2 separate regions of the Homo sapiens genome follow, and region 1 is linked to region 2. Evidence: promoter capture Hi-C in 16 types of primary human blood cells and fetal thymus (Javierre and others, 2016). All regions are on one chromosome and are shown on one strand. Each heading gives the region's core, a stretch centred on a gene start or on the middle of the fragment in contact. The rest is flanking DNA. Distances are from core to core; before and after follow the strand shown. Region 1 overlaps VAV3 (vav guanine nucleotide exchange factor 3). Region 2 holds the start of HENMT1 (HEN methyltransferase 1).

Evidence for each region. The method cuts DNA at HindIII sites, captures the fragments that hold promoters and counts their contacts. A CHiCAGO score of 5 or more calls a contact.
Region 1: a fragment that was not itself captured here is called in contact with the fragment with the promoter of HENMT1 in region 2 in 1 of 17 cell types (fetal thymus); the score reaches 6.0 in fetal thymus.

What each region holds. Positions count from the first base shown.
Region 1 is chr1:107,776,088-107,782,233 of GRCh38, reverse strand. It overlaps VAV3 (vav guanine nucleotide exchange factor 3), which reads left to right. Exons shown (of 27, transcript NM_006113.5): 3 at 2,742-2,800; 4 at 4,938-5,003. Among named protein-coding and RNA genes, the nearest start is that of MIR7852, 120 kb to the left of the region's middle. The HindIII fragment of the contact is 1,056 bases long and covers 4,092-5,147 here.
Region 2 is chr1:108,656,664-108,662,600 of GRCh38, reverse strand. It overlaps HENMT1 (HEN methyltransferase 1), which reads left to right and starts at 1,508. Exons shown (of 8, transcript NM_001102592.2): 1 at 1,508-1,638; 2 at 2,639-2,737; 3 at 5,022-5,150. The coding sequence starts at 2,717. RefSeq lists enhancers at 611-1,199, 1,200-1,789 and a silencer at 1,375-1,544. The HindIII fragment of the contact is 2,630 bases long and covers 444-3,073 here.

The sequences.
Region 1 (6,146 bases), core at 3,370-5,869, 880 kb after region 2:
AGTAAAATGCATTGCTATATAAAATACATAATAGAATAGCAATAATAAAAGACATAACCGTAGTACTGCTATTGCTATTTTTCTTGTTATTAAGTAGTGATATATGCTGGGACCACAGTGTAAAGTAGAATCAGAGGCAGATTTCACCCCATAGCTTTCTAACAGTGATATATTAGGATAAGATGCATGCTAAAGTAAAGCAATGTAGTTAATTCAAGGGTCTGGATACTGTACTGATTATTCCAGAACCTCCCCAAAGTTAGACTTTTCGCTTAATAGTGAATAATTTTGGTATTTTAGCAAGTGACTATTTTTATTTTGAATTAGTTATTTTTGATAAATTTATTAGTATTTGTTCATTCTTGATCTTCTGAGTTTACAAACTCACTGACAATGTTTTATCTTTATTATGGGGAATTAATCAATATCAAGTTTTATCTGATTGGTTGTATATGTTTTGACATTAGATGTTCGACATAGTTGACCAGGAAGAAATTGCATGAAGGGTTTCAATTGTATTTTCTTTTCTTTTTCTAGTCTCACAGCAGGGGGCTACGGTTAGAATATACAATTTTGGGGTCAGTAAATTAGCTCATCTAGTCACCATGTCCTTTGCTTCTTTCTAACCCTTTAGAACTATCCTAAAGAGTTTTGCTCCCTTCTCTTTTGTTTATGTAACAAATTTTCTTAATTTTTTAAAAATTAACAAATAAAAATTATATGTATTGATCTGTGCAACATGTTGGTTTGAAATATGTATACATTGTGGAATGGTTAACTGGAGCTAATTAACATATGTATTGCATCACATCTTTTTTATTTTATTGTGGTGAGAACGCTTAAAATGTAACCTTTTTGCAGTTTTCAAGAATGTAATACATTGTCGTCATCTATATGTAATTCAATTAAATGTTATCTTTGTATAATAACTTTATTTTACATGATAATAAAAATTCACATTTACTGAGTTAAGCATATGATAGGCATGATCTCATTTAATTCTTTTAGTAACTCCATGAAGCAGTTAGCTATTATCTGCATTTTACAGAGGCTAGTAAAGGTGAGCATAGCTGAAAACTTGTGAGTCAGGGCTCCAGGTATTCTTACTCCAAAGCCAGGAGTTTCTAACTACAACCATATATATATATGGTACCAGTTCCTGAAGTGGGTGAGATATAAGTGTATGTGTGGCTGGTACTCTCATGAACCTTCTACAGAGTACTGGAGAGACTTCATTTTTATGTTCCTGTCTCTGAAGTAAGGAATTAGATTACCTTAATTTAGAAACAGATTTTTGCCTTTTCTCGCTTTTTACTATCATTCTGAATAAGCCTCATGTAGAACCTCTTTAAGTTGTGTTTGTTAAAATTTTGAGAGTTAGGATGCATTATATCTATTATCATAAAAATAAACTTTATGGCCGGGCACAGTGGTTCACACCTGTAATCCCAGCACTTTGGGAGGCCAAGGCAGGTGGGTCACTTGAGGCCAGGAGTCCGAGACCAGCCTGGCCGACATAGCGAAACTGCATCTCTACTAAAAATACAAACATTAGCCAGGCATGGTGGTGTGTGCCTGTAATCCCAGCTACTTGAGAGGCTGAGGCATGACAATCACTTGAACCTGGGAGGCAGAGGTTGTAGTGAGCCAAGATCGCACCACTGTACTCCAGCCTGCACAACAGAGTGAGACTCTGTCTCAAAAAAGAAACAAACAAGAATAGACTTTATGAGAAAAATACATTTTAGATAAATGGCTTTCTCACTAAGTCTTCGAAAGAGACAATCTTAGGACAAAAGATTGAAGGAAGGGTAAAGTTGCTAGCAGAGTATATTTAACATTTAGATTTAAGTACTGAAGATCTTTATAAGGAATCTTTGAAACATAATTAAGGTTAATTTAGAAAACTTTTTCTGAAAACACTCAGAATTAAATTAAGGCAATTTCCTTAAAGTTGGTGATTATACAGAATAGCTACTATTTAAATAGTTTACGTGCTAGCTTATTTAATCCTCACGATAATGTAATGATTGTTAATAATCTAACTATTATTATAGGCATTATCTAGAAGATGAAACAAAAGCTCAGAGAAGTTAAGTATTTTGCCCAAAAGTACTTGGCCAATAAATGGTAAGCTGAGGATTTAGACTCAGGTGGTCTGGCCCAAGAGCCCGCCCACAGTCTCACCTGCTTTGCTATATAGCAGGACTGTCCAATAGAACTTTCTGTGATGATGGAAATTTTTTGATAACTGTGTAGTTCATTACAGTGGCCACATGTGTGTGGCTACTGAACACTTAAAATGTGGCTAGTGCAACTGCAGAACTGGGATTTTTGTTTTTAAAATTTAAATTAATTTAAATAGCCTCATGTGGCTAGTGGGTACTATACTGGAGAATACAGCTTTCCAGAATCTTTCAGATTCTGTAAAAGTAGAGATACAAGTTGCTTGGGGCCACCCAGGCTAACTTTGTGTTATACTGATATAGAATCTGCAACTCAAATGGGTTAGTAATCTACTTAAAGTAATAAAGTAATTTATTACTTTAAGTAATAATTATAAAATTATAATCCAGGTGTTTATACTTCCCAATCACAGCCCTTCTCATTCTGCACATCTTTGACACCTGCAAATTTATGTTTCTGCTGCTATGGTTAATATTAGATTGAAAAAATTTTGGAAAAAGAAATCTTATATTTTCTGAACTACATATCTAATTAGTATTTTCCTCTTTTCTCAGGTTATAGAAACATTATCACGACTTTCTCGAACACCTATAGCATTGGCCACAGGAATCAGGTAAGCTCTGTTTTCGTTGTTCATGTGTCCCATTGAGTTCAGTGTAATGATTCTTTATTAAATGGTTACTATTTGTGAAGCATCTTGCACACAGGTACTATGTCTCATTCATGAAGAGTGCCTGGTATGTAAGTATCCCGTACACGTTTGAAATTAATTGAGCAAGGTAGAACTTATTGATAGAGTTGAATAACACATTGGCTAAACATTGTTCTCAATTCACAGGTGACTGTCACTGGTGTGGTTCTTCTTTTTTTTTTTTTTTAACTTTCCTCCAACATTTCTGTACATATGATTCATTAAAGTAAACACAAATGCTTAAGTAAATAAATATTTATAAGATGTTGTAATATGTTTATTTCCTATAGAGTAGATCATAATAACTCATAGCTTTTAGGAGTTTAAGAAATAATCAAACAAGTATAAAACATGTGTACAAGAATGTGTATTGAAGGTTCAGTAGTAAATTAAAAACCTGGAAGTAAATTGGTTAAATATAGTATGTCATCTCCTTGCAATAGAGTATTATGCAGTTGATAAGCATAAAAATATAGATGTGTATGTTGTGTTGAGCCTTTTCTGTTTCAGATACTACATACTTAAGTTAGATCAGTCAGCAAAGATGTATTATATAAGTAACATTAGGAAATAAAGCAAAACAGTCTCTACTCAGCCTGGTTTCATGGAAATGGATCAAATTTGTTTTTTACCTTCTTTATTCAGTGCTCCATATTTCTGTCTCTGGCCATCACAGCCATTTTTCTGTGTCCAGCTCACATTCACATTCTAAGGGAGAGAGGATCCAAGCAGGACTTAGTGGGGTTCTCTGCACTGGCTACAAAGCACAGTGAGCTCAGGAAAAATGCCCTGCTGGTACAGGACCTTTCTCAGAAATGGGCCATGAATTTGGCAGCTTTCTATGTATATGGTCTGTCGGCTGGATAAATGTTTAACTCCTAATTTGCTCTTCAATACATGCATACCTTTCATGTCAATATATATTTTATGTTATTATATGTAAAGATTTTTTTAAAGCATGATCAAATTTTTATGTATTGATTCTGAAAAAACGTAAGTCAAAATTTTTCTCCTTTTTTTCTCATCTATATTTTCTACAATGAACTTGCATAATAAAATGTGCCTTAATTTATAAAAAATGATTATGAGACTACATTTCTCACACACTGATTTATTTGAAAAACCTAGTCTCCTCAAATGTCTTCAGTATTAAATTAATCCATAAGTCAATGTGAAACTCTGCTTTTAATATAACTAGTAATTATTTAAAGCTTATTTATTATTTTGATGGATCCTCTGGTTTTTATGAAACATGTGATATGCTGGCTGCCTGAAAAGAGTAGAATTTTTGGCACAGTATGCTTACTGTGATTTTGTTAGACATAAATTTAAGGCAGTTATGAAAAAAGGACATAGTACCATGATGCAAACAAGGAAGCCACACAGTGGGAATAGGAGATACATTAAAGGTGATTTTCTTGAATAGGGAACAAAGAAAACACTCTATTCACCCCAAGGTCTGGTTGACTCATTTGTCTAATAAACGAAAATAAAACATACAGCTTAAATACCCTAAAGTCTGAGCAGAAATGTCAGGGTCAATGACCGTATATGTAAAGGGCACAATGTTTTTGTCTTCTACTAGTTTTCATCTACACTAGTGAACGGAGCCATGGAAGGATGATTGCTACCAAATTATTTGTTATCAGATCCCACAGCTGAAAAGAGAGGGTGCTGAAGGCAAGGGTACATGCACAGCTGTTTGTTGTCTGACTTGGGGTGCTGCAGTGGGTGAGGTGACCCTGCAGGTATGTGGCAGGTGGGAGATCAGATAAGCACGTTATTATGACCCCCTGCACATGTGACTGTGGTGACCAGCTGTAATTGCTTCAGATGATTTCAGGTGGCAGGTGTTACAGCCTCCCTAGGGGAACCCCAGACAAAGCCACTGAGCAGGCACTTTAGGGAAAGCCCTAGATATTGTTAGACATGGTGACTGATCTGACCATTTTGGCAGCAGACAACTTACATATTTAGTGAGGGTTAAGTGCGCAGCCTGATTGTTGCTCGTTCACTCATGGGTTTGTTTTTTTGTTTTTGTTTTTTCTCCTCTTCCTAGGCCCTTCCCAACAGAAGAAAGCATTAATGATGAAGACATCTACAAAGGCCTTCCTGATTTAATAGAGTATGTTGAAAATTTCAAGCAAAATTTAGCCACTGCCAATTTATGTGTCCATTGTGGGTTTTAACTGTGGATGTTAAAGTAAGCTATCTGAAGGAGGAAAAGTGGCTTAATTACTGATTAACCTTAAACTGGCGATGGAAAGCTTTACAAGAAAATGTACTTCAACTGGTTTTTAGTTCCTGTTTTGTGTCCCCATGAAGAATAAAGAAACTTACTCTAATGAAGTAAAATTTCAAAGTTTCTCAAAGGCATAACAGAAGTAGTAGATAAAACTGGAGTTAGGGAACAATTTAAAAGAAATAGAATCTGCTGCTGGAGTTGTGGGACACATAGTGCATGCCTTATAAGTTCAAGGAAGGGAGAGATAAGTGTGGGTTGGAGCTATTCGGGATGTTTTAGTAGGCGGTGTTTGTTCTGAACAGAGAATCTTTTTGGGCTCTATTATTTAATAGTCAAGAGAGGCAAAAGGTCCTTGCAGCCGATTATCTTCTGCTGATTGAGTGACTTGTACAGATTACAAATAAATATATGCGTGATCGTTACTCCTCAAGGAACTGATGACATGGATCAGGCATGTTTGCAAAGAATCATAATAAGAAATAGATTATGCCCCAAGACAGATTCAAATGCTATGGAACTTCATCCATTCATTCATCTATCCTTCCTCATACACCCAACACACTGGGCTTGTTTTAGCCTTGTGACCTTTACACCTGCTATTCTTTCTGCCTGTTTGACTGATCCCTCAGCGTTCAAGTTTTTGCTTAGATTTCCCTACAGAGAGGCCTTCTCTGACTATCCTGTCTAAAATTGCCACCACCCCCTTACATTGCTGTGTTTTTACAGCATTTGCCAATGCCTGAGACAGTCTTGGTTTGCTTCATTTATTGTTTGTCTCCTCATTAGAAGGTACACTTTTGTGAGGTGTGGGACTTTGCCTTGTTCATGGCTGTATTCCTAGAACTTCACAGTGTCTGGCATATAGTAGGTACTCAATAAGTATTTGTTTTCCAAATTAATAAGTCAAAACTGCATCTAGCATCTACTGTTTGCCAGGTATTACACCTGGCAATAATAATAAGAGCTTACTGAGTTTCCATTTGTGTGCTAACCAGGTTATATGCACTATCTTATGTAATACCA
Region 2 (5,937 bases), core at 259-2,758:
CCTGCTTTGAGTATATACCCAGAAGTGAATTTATTATTTAAACATTCTATTTTAAATTACATCCTGTAGTAAGGTGTACACTCCTTTAATGAAGTCTGCTAAAACTAGTTTCCCCAAGTCAACAGGAACCTCTCAAACTGTAATGTGAAATTATCACTGAGTGTTTTTTCTTTTTAGACATGGTCTGGTTCTGTCGCCCAGACTGGAGTGCAGTGGTGCAATCATAGCTCACTGCAGGCTCAGATTCCTGGGGTCAAGTGATCCTCCGGCCTCAGCCTCCCAAACAGTTGGGACCACAGGCAGGCACCACCATGCCCAGCTAATTTCTTTTTTTTTTTGGTAGAGACGGGGTCTCACACTCCGGGGCTCAAGTGATCCCCCAAAGTGCTGGGATTACAGGCGGAAGCCACGGTGCCGGGCCTTATGATTGAATTTTTGAAGCTTATTGTTAGTTATGTACTTCTTTACCTATGACACTAGACTCCCCAAAATGCCAAAAACAAGATTGGTGTAATTTATCATTGTGGTACCCTTAAGCTGTCAGCATAGTGCTTTGCATACAGCAGGCGTTAAATGTTTGAAAATACAGTTCCAATATATCATTTGTGGCATATTAATAGGCTATTAATTCAGTAGCAAAAACACCAGCTTTTGCATCTTTCAAAATATAAGTCAATCTTTTTTCCCTAAAGAAGGCAGCTTCGTCCCTCCCCTCACCCCCCTAATACTCTTCCATCATATACAGGAAAGAAAGTACTTATATATATTAAGTGGAGTCTCCAGAGGGAAGGATGGCAGGATACAATAACTTTTCCAAGAGATCAACAGTTCTATCCACAACACTCGGGGAAAACTATTTCGGGGGTCGGGTGGCGGTGGAGAGGGGGCGTTGGGAGCGGAAAGAACGTTTTTCTGAACGCAGGTGTCACTGGGCCAACTTCACCCAGCCTACATTCCTTTAAGGCCCCCGTGGACTGCTCTGGGATGAAAGCGGAGGCTGACTGGGACTCCAGCCGCCGGCCGCCTCGCGTGGAGCCTTGCTGCTCCTCTTGCCGCCTTCCGCTGGCCAGGACCGTTTTTAGGCCTTTGCCACGCCTCGGGAGCGCCACGAACTCAACAGCCGCCCAAGCCGCCTTCCGGCTCGCGGTCTGCGGACGCGCTCGGAGTTGGGGGCCTTCGCCAACAGCTGCCGTACCGTGCCGCGTCGCAGCCGCACGCTAGCGGGGTCAACGGCGCGGCAGGCGCAGGGGTCCTCGCCAAGGTTCGGAAGAGGACCTTGAAAATGGCTTCTGGGCATGCGCCACAGCGGCCGTTACGAGACGCAAAACCGACGCCTTGGAACTGAGAGCCTAGAGGGACGGAGCTCGGCGCACCATGAGGCTCCCGGGGCCCAAGGCCGACCGTGAGAGCGCACGAGGTTGGCGAGCCCCGCGGGGAGGCCGAGGCGCGGGTGCGGGCGCCGGCGTAGCCGCGGCGGTAGCGTCACGCAGCGAGGCCGTGCGTGCGCGGGCGTCAGGGCGGCGCTGAGTTGAGGACGCTGGCGGCTCCGCGACGAGCTTTGTTTTTTCGGTTGGGCATGCTGCTTACCGCAGGATGATGGAAGCGACGGCCCGTACAAAGACAGAAGCGTTGGTTTCAGTGAGCAGGGTTTCTTTTTCTTTTTCTTTTTTTTTTTTTGAGACGGAGTCTCGCTCTGTCGCCCAGGCTGGAGTGCAGTGGCGGGATCTCGGCTCACTGCAAGCTCCGCCTCCCGGGTTCATGCCATTCTCCTGCCTCAGCCTCCCAAGTAGCTGGGACTACAGGCGCCCGCCACTACGCCCGGCTAATTTTTTGTATTTTTAGTAGAGACGGGGTTTCACCGTTTTAGCCGGGATGGTCTCGATCTCCTGACCTCGTGATCCGCCCGCCTCGGCCTCCCAAAGTGCTGGGATTACAGGCGTGAGCCACCGCGCCCGGCCAGGGTTTCTTAATACAAGTTGGTGACTAACATGTTGCCTAGATTCCAGATTAAAGTCTAGTTGTTGGAGACACATGTGCAATAGAGAACTAAAATTTAAATTCAAGTTCGTGAGTGAATTGAATAGATGTTGGAGCATCTCTAGTTTATCAAGGACACTTTTTTTCCCCCTCGAAATTTCATTTTGACGATGTGTGGAAAAATTTTTGAAAAAATTTGAAGTTGAGGGTCTTAGCAATGAAATGGGCAGAACTCCTAAGATTGCTCCGTTTGTATCTAGTTGAACTATTCATGATAGTAAAGGGAAAGGATGGCTGTTTTCGCTCTTAGTAGGGTTTGACGTAGTGAAAAGTTACGCTTTCTGAGCCTGTTTGCGAATGTCTGAAAAAATACTGGATACATTCTGTGGATTAAATGGTAGTCCACATTTAATCCACAGATTGGCTATTGTGAATAATGCTATGAACTTCGGTGTATAAATATCTGTTCGAGTCCTGCTTTCGTGTTTTTTTTTTTTTTTTTGAGTACTCAGAGGTGAATTCATTATTTACTTTTAAGCGTTCTATTTAAATTATATACTGTAGTAAGGAGTAAGAAAGAGGCTTTCGTTCTTCCCTTCTGAACTAGGCAGCTATTTCTTTCAGGTATCGCTTTACAAAAACGGTTTTGTATTTATTACAGCTGAGTCAGTGCTGATTCTCTCAAATAGAGCTTGAAGGATAAATCTTCATTTTTGTTTCAACAAAACTTCGAAACAAAATGGAAGAAAATAATCTACAGGTAATGCCACCCTTCTTAGCTGCGTCTTTGACTCTTAAGAATTATCACCTGGATGTATTGTGAGATAATTGCAAACAAAATTGATCACATTTAGGTCCTAGCATTTCCCGGGGTGTTGGTTGAGGTAAACAAGGGTATACATAGATGAAAGAGTCACATTTGGTGTATGTAAGTAAAATAAATGTTTTTACTTTTATCACTAGGTGTTAAAGTAGCAAAATCTATTTTAAAAACACTCTAAGTAGTGTTCCCCAATGTGGTTGTGTATATGGATCACCTGGGGATTTTGTTAAGTTGCAGATTCTGTTTAAGGAGGTCTAGGGTGAGGCCCAAGCTTTTGTGTTTCTAAAGTTTCTAGGTGAAGATGCCACTGGTTTGGAAACCACATTGGGAGTACCTAGGGTGTAGCTCCCTGCTGTCCAGTAGCTACACATGGCAAGTGGGCACTTGAAATGTGGCTAGTGGAATTGAGGAACCGAACTTTAATTTTTTTTTTTTTTAAGACAGGGTCTTGCTCTGTTGCCCAGGCTGGAATGCACTTGCCCAGTCACGGTTAACTGCAACGCTGACCACCTGGGCTCATAACTTCATTTTTAATTTTAAGTTTAAAATTGGATATTTGATTACATTATTGGAAAAAAGTATGTTTGGAATAACTTGGGTATGTGCATGTATATTTTAAATGTAAAGTTTTTAAATCCAATACAGACAAGTATTTCTGATGAAGGTTTTGGAACTGAGACGCAGAAGTACAAAATATGTAGCACACTGGATTTTGAAGACTTAATGTGAAAAACAAGAATCTAAAATCTCTTATATTGATTTTATGTAAAAATTATATTTTCGATATATTGGTTTAAATATTCTAATTCCGATTATAATTCCAATTCTTGGGCTACAAGAAAGTTGCCTACTTGTATTTTATCTATTGGACAGTGCTACATCAGATATCAAATACCCTTTGGACTACTTTTATAATACTGCTGTATAGGAATAGTAACAGCTATTACAGATTAATCTTATAAATTCTGTTTTTTCTTGGGGTCATGTTAAAGAAAAAATTAGTCTGACTTTATTGAGGACTGTTGCAATAAGAACATTGCAAAGATGAAGAATTTGACCAGATAGGGTGATCAGATATCAGGGGTAGAAGATTCTGTCTAAACTGACTTAGAAGTATTCTTATTAAAACTGGGCTAGGCAGCCCAAAGATAGGATTGGGGCCAGGGTTTGAGGTCTATTCAAGAAGATGGCTCAGAGGAACCTGACTGAAGTTTGGTCAGTGAGAGAGTCTTTTGCTGGTGTGTTGGAATGTTCCTACAGATGCCCAACTACTCAGGAGGCCGAGGCCAGAGGATTGCTTGAGCCCAGGAATTTTAAACCAGCCTGGGCGACATAGTGAGATCCTCTCTCTCTCTTAAAAAGAGTGTTGGCTGGGTGTGGTGGCTTACACCTGTAATCCCAGCACTTTGGGAGGCCAAGGCGGGTGGATCACGAGGTCAGGAGTTCAAGAAGAGCCTGGCCAACATGGTGAAACCCGTCACTACTAAATACAAAAATTAGCCAGGCATGGTGGCGCATGCCTGTAATGTAATCCCAGCTACTCGGGAGGCTGAGGCAGGAGAATTGCTTGAATTGAGGGAGGCGGAGGTTGCAGTGAGCTGAGATCGCGCCACTGCACTCCAGCCTGGGTGACAGAGCAAGACTCCGTCTTGGGGGGAAAAAAAAAATATATATATATATATGTGTGTGTGTGTGTGTGTATATATGTGTGTGTGTGTGTGTGTGTGTGTACATATATATGTGTGTGTGTGTGTATATATATGTGTGTGTGTGTAAGTGTGTGTACATATATGTGTGTGTGTGTGTGTATATATATGTGTGTGTGTATATATATATAGTCAGTCATTATAAATATTTTCCAGCCTCCTGCCTACTTGGACCACAGGCTTTGGCGACTCACTCCACAAAAGGTCCCTTATGGTTAGGAGTCATCTAATTGTTTTCATTGAATACATTCATTGGTAATGTTCCCTTCAGCTGAAACTAAGCTATAGGGAGCATACAGCTAGATTCTCTCTTGTTAAAAGGCATGAGAGGATGCTTACATGAACTGTGGAGGAAATGCAGTGCTACCTAATGATTTTAGGACAAAGGGTATGTGAAGGCCAGTGTGTTTTTCAAAGTGATTGGGGGAAATAAAGTTTTTTTTTTTTTGCCCCTTATTTAATTTCTGAAGTCATGCATGATTTAGAACCTGTCTTTTTTTGTTTGTGAACTTCAGTGCAGTAGTGTGGTTGACGGTAATTTTGAAGAAGTTCCCAGGGAGACGGCAATTCAGTTTAAACCTCCACTATACAGACAGCGGTACCAGTTCGTTAAAAATTTAGTGGATCAACATGAGCCTAAGAAGGTAGGTATTTCTCTTTCCAAACATTTAATTATTAAGACTAGTAGACTAGTCATATGAGGTGTTTTGTCAAATGGATTAGTATGGAGAGACTTTTCACAGGGGTTATTGCAATAGGGAGAATGCCGTAACCACAAGATCTGCAGGTGTCTCAAGAGTTAAGCAAAAGGGGTTTTTCTTTTACTGGAGAAGTGAACAAAGCTAGAAACTAGGGAGGTGGGATGAGAGGGTGGTTTGAAAGGACAGTGGAATGGGGAGCCTTAAGGAGGGGGCTGTTTCCTCAGGCTGTAGTGCAGGGCCCTGGGGGAAGAAGTAAAGTTTGAATAAAGTATGGTTAAAAAAGGAATTTTCTTCCCATTGATCAGTGGGGACAAGTATTCATGATAATCATTTGAGGCAAAGAATGGAAACACAAGGAATCTTATCTAAGTTTTATGGAGGAGGGTGGTTTTTTGCAGTGAGCCCTTTCCTGGAACACAAAGCACAGGTGGATTCCTTTAGCAGATGCCAGAAACACAGGGCTCAGACAGAATTCAGCATTGTCAGGTTCAAATGTGAAGAAAATCTTAAGATTTTATAGTTGGATGTGATCTTGTAGGTACCGTACTTCTAGAGCATTTAGTTAGAATATCAGGCAAACTGGTATTGTAGCCACAGGTATTGTGGTTCTTTTAAAATTAGATGATAATGGGCCGGGTGCAATGGTTTACACCTGTAATTCCGGCACTTTGGGAGGCTGAGGCAGGTGGCTAGCTTGAGACCAGCCTGGCACCATAGTGAGACCCTGTGT